2 separate regions of the Homo sapiens genome follow, and region 2 is linked to region 1. The links are contacts of gene promoters, found by promoter capture Hi-C in blood cells and fetal thymus (Javierre and others, 2016). All regions are on one chromosome and are shown on one strand. The core of a region is centred on a gene start or on the middle of the fragment in contact, and the rest is flanking DNA. Distances in the headings are between cores, read along the strand shown.

Region 1 (5,327 bases), core at 2,828-5,327:
CTGAGGTCAGGTCTCTACTAAAAATAAAAACTTGGCTGGGTGTGGTGTTGGCGCACACCTGTAATCCCAACTACTCAGGAGGCTGAGGCAGGAGAATTGCTTGAACCCGGGAGGCGGAGGTTACAGTGAGCCGAGATCACACCACTACACTCCAGTCTGGGCGAAAGAGCAAGACTCTGTCTCAAAATTAAATTAATTAATTAATTAATTAAAATAAGGCTGCGCGGATCGCTTGAGCTCAGGAGTTGGAGACTGGCCTGGGCAACATGGTGAAACCACATCTCTACAAAAAAAAATTAGCTGGGTGCCATGGCACATGCCTGTCATAGTCCCAGCTACGTGGGAGGCTGAGATGGGAGGATCACCAGAGCCCAGGAGGTTGAGGTTGCAGTGAGCCGAGATTCTATCACTGAACTCCAGCCTGGGCGACAGAGTGAGATCCTCTCTCAAAAACAGTCCACCTCTAAGACATACAGCTAACTCCCTAACAACCTGAAGAACACGCAACAAGGTGGATGATACAAGCAGCCAAATTATCCACTGGACACTGGGTCTCACCCAGCTTGATAGAGTTACAACTGTGGGAAGCAACTTCATCTCTGAAGAAGCCTTCCAAAGAAATATAGAGTCAAAAAATCAAAATATCTTCAAGACAACTGTTAGAAAAGCTGAAGCCTTCTACCACATCAAGAGGAGGTGGATGAGAAGAAAGTGAAGATGTTTTCTTTTTAAAATGTTCAGCATTGCTGTTTCCATAATGCACATATACACAGGTTATTTACACAGTCTCAATGATACGTGCTCACCAGAGGGAAAGTATAACCCACAGAGAGCAGGATACAAGAGATACAAACTATTTCCTCAAGTTGCTCTCAGTTTCTGTATTCCTCTCACGACTCCTAGGTTTTAGTGCTGTCCTAGGTTTTAAATTGTTTTCATGTAACAAGGCTCCTAACAAAAGCCAGCTGAAAAAAGAATGACTGGTTCCAATGATGGAGGAAAAAAACTAACAGCCCTAGACTTATCAGAGATGCATACGTGGTACTTCATGGGCAATTTTTTTTTTTTTTTTTGACACGGAGTCTCGCGCTGTCACCCAGGCTGGAGTGCAGTAGCGCGATCTTGGTTCACTACAAGCTCCACCTCCCAGGTTCATGCCATTCTCCTGTCTCAGCCTCTTGAGAAGGTGGGACTACAGGCGCTCGCCACCATACCCGGCTTATTTTTTGTGTTTTTAGTAGAGAAGGGGTTTCACCGTGTTGGCCAGGATGGTCTCAATCTCCTGAACTTGTGATCCACCCGCCTCGGCCTCCCAAAGTGCTGGGATTACAGGCGTGAGCCTCCACACCCGGCCTTCATGGGCAATTTAAAGAACTTCAGGGCAGAGTGATTTTCATGTCTAGAGTGACTTTCGCCTTTTTTTTTTTTTTTTTTTTCGAGATGGAGTCTCACTCTGTCGCTCAGGCTGGAAGGCAGTGGCACCATCTCAGCTCACTGCAACCTCTGCCTCCCGGGTTCAAGCAGTTCTTTGCCTCAACCTCCCGAGTAGCTGAGATTACGGGCACCTGCCACCATGCCCAGCTAAATTTTTGTATTTTTAGGAGAGACGGGGTTTCACCATGTTGGCCAGGCTGGTCTTGAACTCCTGACATCGTGATCCACCCGCCCTGGCCTCCCAAAGTGCTGGGATTACAGGTGTGAGCCACCGAGCCCAGCCAATTTTCACCTTATGCAATGACTCTGGGACTTCATCTTGGAGTAAAATGTGATTCCATTTTATCAACCCTTCCTGACTCCTCACACATCACTACTCTTTACAAGTATGCTACTACAGAATTTCATTCAGAGTGCTAAAGTAAGAAAAAATTCTGAATTCATCTTGACATAATGATGTCTGAATTCTGCTTGACATAAAGATGTCTGCTATACTATCACTCAAACTTATTCTTACAAAATAGGAAAAATGTCAGAATTCACCGCTATGTAATTCATCCATGTAATCAAAAACCACCTGTACCCCAAAAGCTGTTGAAACAAACAAAAGAAATAGCAAAAATGTGCTTTTCTGATACCTGTCAACCAAACAGTAACTGACTGCATTATTCTTTTCTTCCATGAGAGCCCACTAGTCCAAAGAGCAACAGAAATGTTATGTCTTTTTCTGGCAAAAGGAGGTAAGTGGTGGAGCCGTGTGGCCGGAACACTAAAAGCTTCCTGCCCAATGGTTTGGCGTTCTCAGGCTAGGACAAAGTTGGTTGTATAAGTAATCCAACCACTACTGGAAAAACACACATCGAAGCGTCAATGAATGCACCTGTAGTCCCAGCTACTCGGGAGGCTGAGGCAGGGTTATCACTTGAGCCCCAGGAGTTCGAGGCTGCAGTGAGCTACGATTATGCCACTGTACTCCAGCCTGGACAACAGAGCAAGACCCTATCTCAAAAAAAAAAAGTTTCCCAGGGGTCATTAAATAAGGCATAATGGAATTGTCCATTTCCTCAATCATAAATCCCTTTCTTAAATCATATAACTTCATGACAATTCCTTTAAGGGAGATTTTCTCCGTTTATCAGGAGCAATACCCTGCAGTATTAGAAATCACTATTTCTGACCGGGTGCAGTGGCTCACACCTGTAATCCCAGCACTTTGGGAGGCCGAGGCGGGCGGATAGCCTGAGGTCAGGAGTTCAAGACCAGCCTGGCCAACATGGTGAAACCCGGTCTCTACTAAAAATACAAAAATTAGCTAGGCATGGTAGCGGTTGCCTGTAGTCCCAGCTACTCAGGAGGCTGAGGCAGGAGAATCACTTGAACCTGGAAGCGGAGGTTGCAGTGAGCCGAGATGGCACCCCTACACTCCAACCTGGGCGAAAGAGCGAGACTCCGTCTCAGAAAACAAAAAAAAAGAAAAAAAGAAAAGAAAAAAATCACTATTTCTAATATCATTAGCCTTAAAAACTCAATAAACTTGCAAAGGCAAGAGTTCCTGCAGGCAGGGCCGCGCGTGGTGGCTCACGCCTGTAATCCCAGCACTTTGGGAGGCCAAGGCGGGCGGGTTACTTGAGCTCAGGAGTTCGAGACCATCCTGGCCAAAACGGTGAAACCCCCGTCTTTACCCCAAAAAAAAAAAAAAATTAGCCGGGTGTGGTGGCGTGCGCCTGTAATCACAGCTACTCAGGAGGCTGAGACAGGAGAATCGCTTGAACTCGGGAGGCGGAGGTCGCAGTGAGCCGAGATCGTGCCGTTGCACTCCAGCCCGGGCGACAGAGCGAGAATCCGTCTCAAAAAAAAAAAAAAAAAAAAGTTCCTGAAGGGAAAAGAGGCCCCTTGGGAGTATTCTCCAACCTCACCCAAACTATTCAACGGTAGGAATTCTCAACCTTTTAAGAATGGTAACGATGTCATTTTTCAACACTTTCTCTCTTCTCTGCCGTCCGCTTCAGAAATTAAAGTCATTCCCTTCCCCCAGTTCCAAGCCACTCACGAGGTGCCAGCTTGCAAAACCGGGGCGTTGGCACGAGTCTGGTAAATGCATGAAGCCCCCACAGTCCCCAGAATCTGAGGATGGCACCCAAGGCCTGCATTCTCCTAGCGTCGTCCTCTCTAAGCGCACAATTCCTTTCCCCAAAACCACCAGAACCCCCAGCCCTCGCCAAAGACAATCAAAGCCTAGAAAGGGTTCTCTTTCCTTTCCTTCTGATTCAGAAACCGCTTCTCACCCGCACCACCTCCCCACCTCCACTTTCCCTTCTGCCGCGAGCCCCCGGCCCTCCGTCCACCCGCCGCGGCCTCCCCAGCGCCCGGAGCTGCCGTCTCCCCTCCCGCACTCCCGTTTCCCCTCCTGAGGGGCGGAACGCTTACCTGCTCGATGGCCAGCTGCACCTCGGGCGTGAGCTGCAGCACGGCTTCCAGCTCCTCCACGAACTCCAGTTCCTCCTCCTCCATCATTCCGCCACCCGGCCCCCTGCCGACCCCCGCCGCGAGCCCAACTCAGGCCTCCAGCCGCCACCCAGGCCCCAGCACAGCAACTCCCTCGCGGCAGCGACCTGGTGAGCCCGGCTCCGTCAGCCGCTCTGTCAGCCGCTCCGGCACTTCCGGCAGGCCAGGGCACTTCCGGGACCGGGGAACTGTGGGATCACGGCGGACTGAGACTGGCGGCGTTCCTGTCACGTCAGGTGTCTCCCGGGCAACGCAGTATCCCGGCGGCCCCGCGTGGCCTCAGCGCGTCCTTAGGATGGGCGGGGCCTCTTCCCTCCCCAAGGCGCGCCCCGCACTGAGGACCCCGAGGTTGGGGTAGGGTCTGGCCTCCAGCAGGACGCCCGGATGAAAGTCAGCCCTGCGGCGTCGCCAACCGCAGCCCACAGCCTCCGCGGGCAGCGCAGCGGCGACCTCTCAGCTCCCGGGGCCCCCTCGGTCAGTGGCAGCGGGTGTCCCCGGCCACGGGGGCGACGTGATCCCAGCTGGCGAGTGGCGATGTCGCCAAGGACATTCGTAGGACGGGACAGTGCCCACTCGATAGAAATTCCCCGTGCGCCGGGCTCTGCGCAGAAGCTTTTCGAGGTGACTGCAGCCTCCTTATGGGGAGAAACGTCTTTTTTTTTTTTTTTTTTTTTTTTGAGACGGAGTCTTACTTGTTGCCCAGGCTGGAGTGCAACGGCGCGATCTCGGCTCACTGCAACCCCGCCTGCTGGGTTCAAGCGATTCTCCTGTCTCAGCCTCCCGAGTAGCTGGGATTACAGGCGCCCGCCACCACGCCCAGCTAATTTTTGTATTTTTAGTGGAGACGAGGTTTCACCATGTTGGCCAGGCTGGTCTCGAACTCTTGACCTCGTGATCCGCCCGCCTCGGCCTCCCAAAGTGCTGGGATGACAGGCGTGAGCTACTGCGCCCGGCCAGAAACGTTTTTTTAAAGCCAGATGACGCAGCGCCCTGGAGCTGGGGAGACGTTTACTGAGGTTGAATATCCGGGATCTAAGTCCTGAATAGTCCACCATTGATAAGTTGTGTGACTTGGAACAAATTACTACCCCGCGTCGATGTGGAGAGGATTAAACATTAACAGCGCGATGTAAATTCAAGCTGGTAATACAGGAAATAGTGAGGTGCCCAGCCCTTACCCCCACAAAGGAACAAATAAGCCAGATCACCGATCACCCTGTGAAACCACCTTTCCTGCAGACACTGAAAAGAAGGAGGGAATTGCAGCCCAAGGAGGACCCGCTCCACCAGGTGAACCGGGAAACTCCAGGAGGGAAACGCGTTGGCCCCACTGAACTTTTTTTTGTTGTTGTTATCAGAGTTGCTCAAAGTAAAAAATAGGAGCAGTA
Region 2 (5,169 bases), core at 719-3,218, 270 kb before region 1:
TTTCCTAAGGTTAGAAACAGGAAAAGTGTCAAATGAAAAGGTACTCGCTCAAATTAAGTTTTTTTAAAAGGTCTGTAATTTGAAAGGAAAACAATTTTTCACTAAAAATATCCTTATTACATGAAAGCCATAATTTAAAAGACAGAGAAAAAAGCTTTTTAATTAACAAATAAACAGCATCTCTCAGAGACACTTGGGAATGTTTGTTTTTAATCAGTGGGTCCTAAAAATCACTGCTTCCACCTGCAAACGAACACGAATCCACTGTGGATGGCGTCCTCTGACCCACCCTGAAGGGTTCTGTTTCTCTCCACACACTTCCTTTTCTGCAACTTTCAGCAAAGCAGGTTTGGAAGAAAGAGGATTACAAAGAACTACGACTGGCTCCCTAGTGAATAACTTAACACGGTAAAACCCGGTTTTCCATTTACATTACACATTCACAATCGCTCACTGCTACTTACTTCACTGACGTATTTCACACTCTCTACACACCCAGCATGATTTGTCTGAACTTAACACAGTCCCCCTAAGACAAAAAAAAATATCTCCTAAGGACCTCTGAGAACACAGCGGTGTTCAAAGGCCACGTCCTCGCACACAACACCCAGACCTGCCACGCAGCCGGTACTGTTTCCTGAGCTCATCCGAGCAAGCGTCTCCACGGGGCAAAGCAAGGCCTTGAGGATCCCGCTAACATAACTTACAAATTATTGGGAGGCCGAGGCGGGTGGATCACAAGGTCAGGTGTTCGAGACCAGCCTGGCCAACATGGTGAAACCCCGTCTCTACTAAAAATACAAAAATTAGCTGGGCGTGGTGGTGGGCACCTGTAATCCCAGCTGCTCAGGAGGCTGAGGCAGGAGAGTCGCTTGAGCCTGGGAGGTGAAGGTTGCAGTGAGCTGAGTTGGCGCCATTCCACTCAGCCTGGGCAACAGAGCGAGACTCCATGTCAAAAAAAAAAAAAAAAAAGACATTGACCACTTAAACGACCACAGCATGAAATCAGACAGAAAAATCCATTTTTATCAATAAATGCTGCGTCACTTGCTCTTCCAAACACAGGAAGCATTTTTTGCTCTGCACGTGACTGAGGAGACTGTGGGTCCCAGGGTGGCCCCTCCCTGGGTCCCAGCCGAGCTTCAGCCCGGCAAGCTCAGACCACGGGTGGACTGCAGGCCCCGTCCACAGGGCGTCGATGCATTGGGGCACAGCGGACTGATGCTGTTGTCTGCAGAGGACAGCGTGGCTCTCCAGGACTCCAGCGACTGCGCACGACGGCGATTGTCGCTGCACCTGCTGCTGTGGCTCCGGGGCACCGCGGGGCTCAGTTCAGCTTTCGGCGCAGATGGAGGCCATCGGCAGAAACCCGGAGCTACAGCCGAGCTGAGCTTACAGTGCTCGGTAACCCTCAGGCACTGGAAATAATTTGGATGTGTTCAAGGGGAATATCTAGTTTGTTCTTTCCAATATTGGAAGAAAAAAGTAAAACCATCAGCCACTTTCTTTACTCAAACACCACAGGGATTGGCAGGAGGTCCCAAGAAGGGGTTAGGGGAGGACGGGGTGGCGGGAGGCAGGTCTGAAGCCACCGCACCCTGGTCCACCCCGCTGCTGGGCCACGCCAGCCGAATTCACACGGTCCTTGGGGACATTTCAGTTGACTGTCACCTGCCTCCGTACGGTGGTGTGAGAGGAATGCGCGCCACCACGGCGGCCAGGTTTTGACATCGTTCCCTACTCTGAATGCACCTTAGCTTGTCTGGTGTCGGGGGATGGGGGCACAGATTTCCTCAGCTTTGCCACTTTTTTTTAGAGATGGAGGCTCACTATGTTGCCAGACCGGTCTCGAATTCTTGGGCTCAAGAGATCCTCCTGCCTCAGTTTCCAAGTAGCTGAGACTACAGGCGCCAGCCACCGTGCCCAGCCTTCCTTGCTTTCTGAATTAGACCTAAGGCACTGGCAGAAACCCTCTGCAATTCTGACGCCATCGAGATCCTAAGACTGAGTCAACTCTAGCTCCTCTCATGATGAACCAGGTCATCGCCTGCGTCTGCCTCCTCCGGGTGGCCGCAGGTCTTAGGGCCACCGCTTCCTGTCCTGAGTGTCCACTCCCCACGTGGACTCCCAAAAAGTGTGTTTTCCAAGCACACTCTTAGAATGCTGTTTCTCTCAAAAAAAGGCCGTCCACTCCGTTTTGCCTTATGAAAAAATGGGAAAGTATTCTGAAAGTATTCCAAAAGCCCAAAACACCTATCGGAGACTCACGGAAGCCTGCGGAGACGGTCACCAGATACCAAGGGTTCGAGGCGTTTCTCAGAGCCTGTGCTTGGAACTGACCGTCAGGAAGCAATCGGAGCCGAAGCCGCTGCTCCCAAACCTGGCCGCCCATCGGCCTGGCCTTCCCGGAGCAGGTGGCAACACGGAGAACCTTTTTTTTTAAAAAAAAAAGGCATCTTAAATTGTGGTTTGGGATTTTCTTTTTTTTTTATATCATGAAAAAAGATTTAGAGAATTACAAGAGTTTAGGTTAATAGGAAACACAAATGGAGGTGGAAATTTAAAAACAAAGGAATGGAACTCAACTCTCCACAGATTGAACCCACACAGGTGTCACTGTTTACTGAATTAGCACCACTTTTGTGCAGTGAAGACACCCGTGGCTGAGATTTCTTAAATCTCACTTTTTCCATGCTTTTCTTCTGACAAACTGACCACGGAGGGAGAGCTCTCCTCCCCCCTCCCTATCCCAGACTGCTGCTGCTTTCCTGCAATTCTGGTGGTCTTTTTGTTGCCTCATCTGATTGAGACTTTGGGGAAACAACACAGCAGCAAACCAGGACATATATTCCCTCTAAAAACAGCTTGAAAATTACAACACAAAGATCTCAATAATTATGAGATGCAGTGATTTTTTCTTTTTTTTCTCTTCCCCCGGCCGCGCTTGGAGGTATCTCTAGGTTAGACTCCTCTGGGGCTGGAATGACGTGAAGGGTAAGGTCGCCCAGCTTGGCCAGGGCAGTCGGGGGCAGGACAGCGGGAGAGCCGGTCCGACCCCAGCCCAGCCTGCTGGGTCAGCATTCATCAGAGAGGTCGTCGCTGCCCGGGAGCTCCGCGGCTTCGAGCTCCACGCTGGACAGAAACCTCCTCAGCGTCTTGCGGCAGTTGTAATCCAGGGTGGTGGTGTAGACGGCCTTGGGGTACTTGGGGTACACGATGGTGGTACTGAGGAAGCGGGTGGGCCTGTGGCGTGGCTCGAAGCGCACCTCGGCCTTGTAGTTGCGCCACGTGCCATTGGGGACACAGGTGACCGTCTGGCTGCAGGAGGCCACCGCCAGGCCCAGGGGCAGCTGCACGTCGTCGATGAAGTGCCTCTCGGAGTCGTACTTGACCAAGGAGGTGTACCTGGGCGGGAGACATAAGAGGCCGCGTGAAGCCGCTCCTCTGAGCCGGGGGCTTGGGGTCCCCACTGTGACCGTGAGTCATTTGTGGGGTGCACATGTAGAAACGTGGCCGCCCCAGTGAGAAGCAGCATAGGGTCACAGAGTCTATAAAGTACTTACTATGTGCCAGGTACCCGTCGTCTAAGTACTTTACTTACGGGATCCAATTTAATCTCCCCAACGACCCTGAGAGAAGAAACCGAGGTGCAGAGGTGAAGGTCACAGCGCCACTGAGTACTGGAGCTGGGATTTAAATACAGGGGTGCAGGCTTCCAAAGCTGGCCCCACATCACTGTTAGCCACTGCGGGCAGCAGCCCTGGATCCTGCTCCCACTCGCACAAGCTTAAGACCTCAGCCAAGTTACTTCACTCTTCCGAGCCTCCGTTTCCTCTTTTTTTTTTTTTTTTTTTGAGATGGAGTCTCGCTCTGTCACCCAGGCTAGAGTGCAGTGGTGCAATCTCAGCTCACTGCAACCTCCGCCTCCCAGGTTAAAGTGATTCTCCTGCCTCAGCCTCCTGAGTAGCTGGGATTACAGGCGCCCGCCACCACGCCCTGCTAATTTTTGTATTTCTACTAGAGACGGGGTTTCACCATGTTGACCAGGCTGGTCTCAAACTCCCGACCTCAGGTGATCTGCCTGCCTTGGCCTCCCAAAACGCTGGGATTATAGACATGAACCACTGCACCTGGCCTCTTTTTTTGTGTTTTTTTTTTTTAAACAACATATCTTTTATTCTTTGTAGAGATGAGGACTTCCTGTGTCGCCCAGGCTGGTCCTAAACTCCTGGGCTCGAGCAATCCTCCTGCATCAGCCTCCCAGAGTGCTGGGATTACAGGCATGAGCCGCCGCACCCACCCTATCAGCTCTTTAATGAGAGGATAAAGGAACCCAGAAACCTTGAATGCTGGTTCTGAAAGTTTGGCTATACCAAATATTAATACTTTGTTCACCTTGGCATTTGGTTTGGGGACCCTCCCTAAACCTACATATCTGGGTATCTGACTTATCAATGAAAGCCAATTATCATCTTGATTTCCATAAGATAAATTAGCATCTGTGTTCCTCAGGCATTTAATTTTTTCAAGTCCTTCTTTTAATTTTGGGAGTCAGTTTTCTTTTCTTTTCTTTCTTTTTTTTTTTTTTGTTTTTCGGAAATGGAGTCTCGCTTTCTCGCCCACTCTGGAGTGGTGCAGTGGGGTGGTCTCAGCTCACCACAGCCTCCACCTCCTGGGCCCAAGCGATCCTCTCACCTCAGCCTCCTGCGTAGCTGGGACTACAGGCGTGCACCACCATTCCCAGGTAATTTTTGTATTTTTTGTAGAGACAGGGTTTCACTGTTGTTGCCCAGGCTGGTCTCGAACTCCTGCTTCAGTCTGCCAGAATGCTGGATTCTAGGCGTGAGCCACCGTGCCTGGCCCAAAAGTTACTTTTCTTACAGAAGCAAAGCTTTAATGCATTTTACTGAATGCTTATAGCTTTGTAGATACTGAAAAGAGTATGAGCGTCACATACAGACACATCTAACAGCACTGCCTCCAACCAGCCCCTACCCACTGGTCAGGTGAGTAAGAATCAGAATTCTTTTCTGTGAGTGGAACGGAAATTTCATCTCTCCTCCTCAGGCAAGTAGTTAAGAGGCTGGTGGGAGTCATGGCCCCATTTTGTTCAAAATACAAGCTCCACAGGAACAAAAGGCTGAACTGCTCACCTCCCAACTGATGAAC

Evidence for each region. The method cuts DNA at HindIII sites, captures the fragments that hold promoters and counts their contacts. A CHiCAGO score of 5 or more calls a contact.
Region 2: a contact is called between a fragment that was not itself captured here and the fragment with the promoter of VPS53 in region 1, in 6 of 17 cell types (M0 macrophages, monocytes, endothelial precursors and 3 more). The highest score is 9.8, in M0 macrophages.

The regions. Positions count from the first base shown.
Region 1 is chr17:710,762-716,088 of GRCh38, forward strand. It overlaps VPS53 (VPS53 subunit of GARP complex), which reads right to left and starts at 4,078. Exons shown (of 22, transcript NM_001128159.3): 1 at 3,862-4,078. The coding sequence starts at 3,948. RefSeq lists an enhancer at 4,550-4,619. The HindIII fragment of the contact is 2,341 bases long and covers 2,209-4,549 here.
Region 2 is chr17:440,090-445,258 of GRCh38, forward strand. It overlaps RFLNB (refilin B), which reads right to left. Exons shown (of 2, transcript NM_182705.3): 2 at 1-3,405. The coding sequence ends at 3,075. Among named protein-coding and RNA genes, the nearest start is that of RFLNB, 3.3 kb to the right of the region's middle. The HindIII fragment of the contact is 3,632 bases long and covers 153-3,784 here.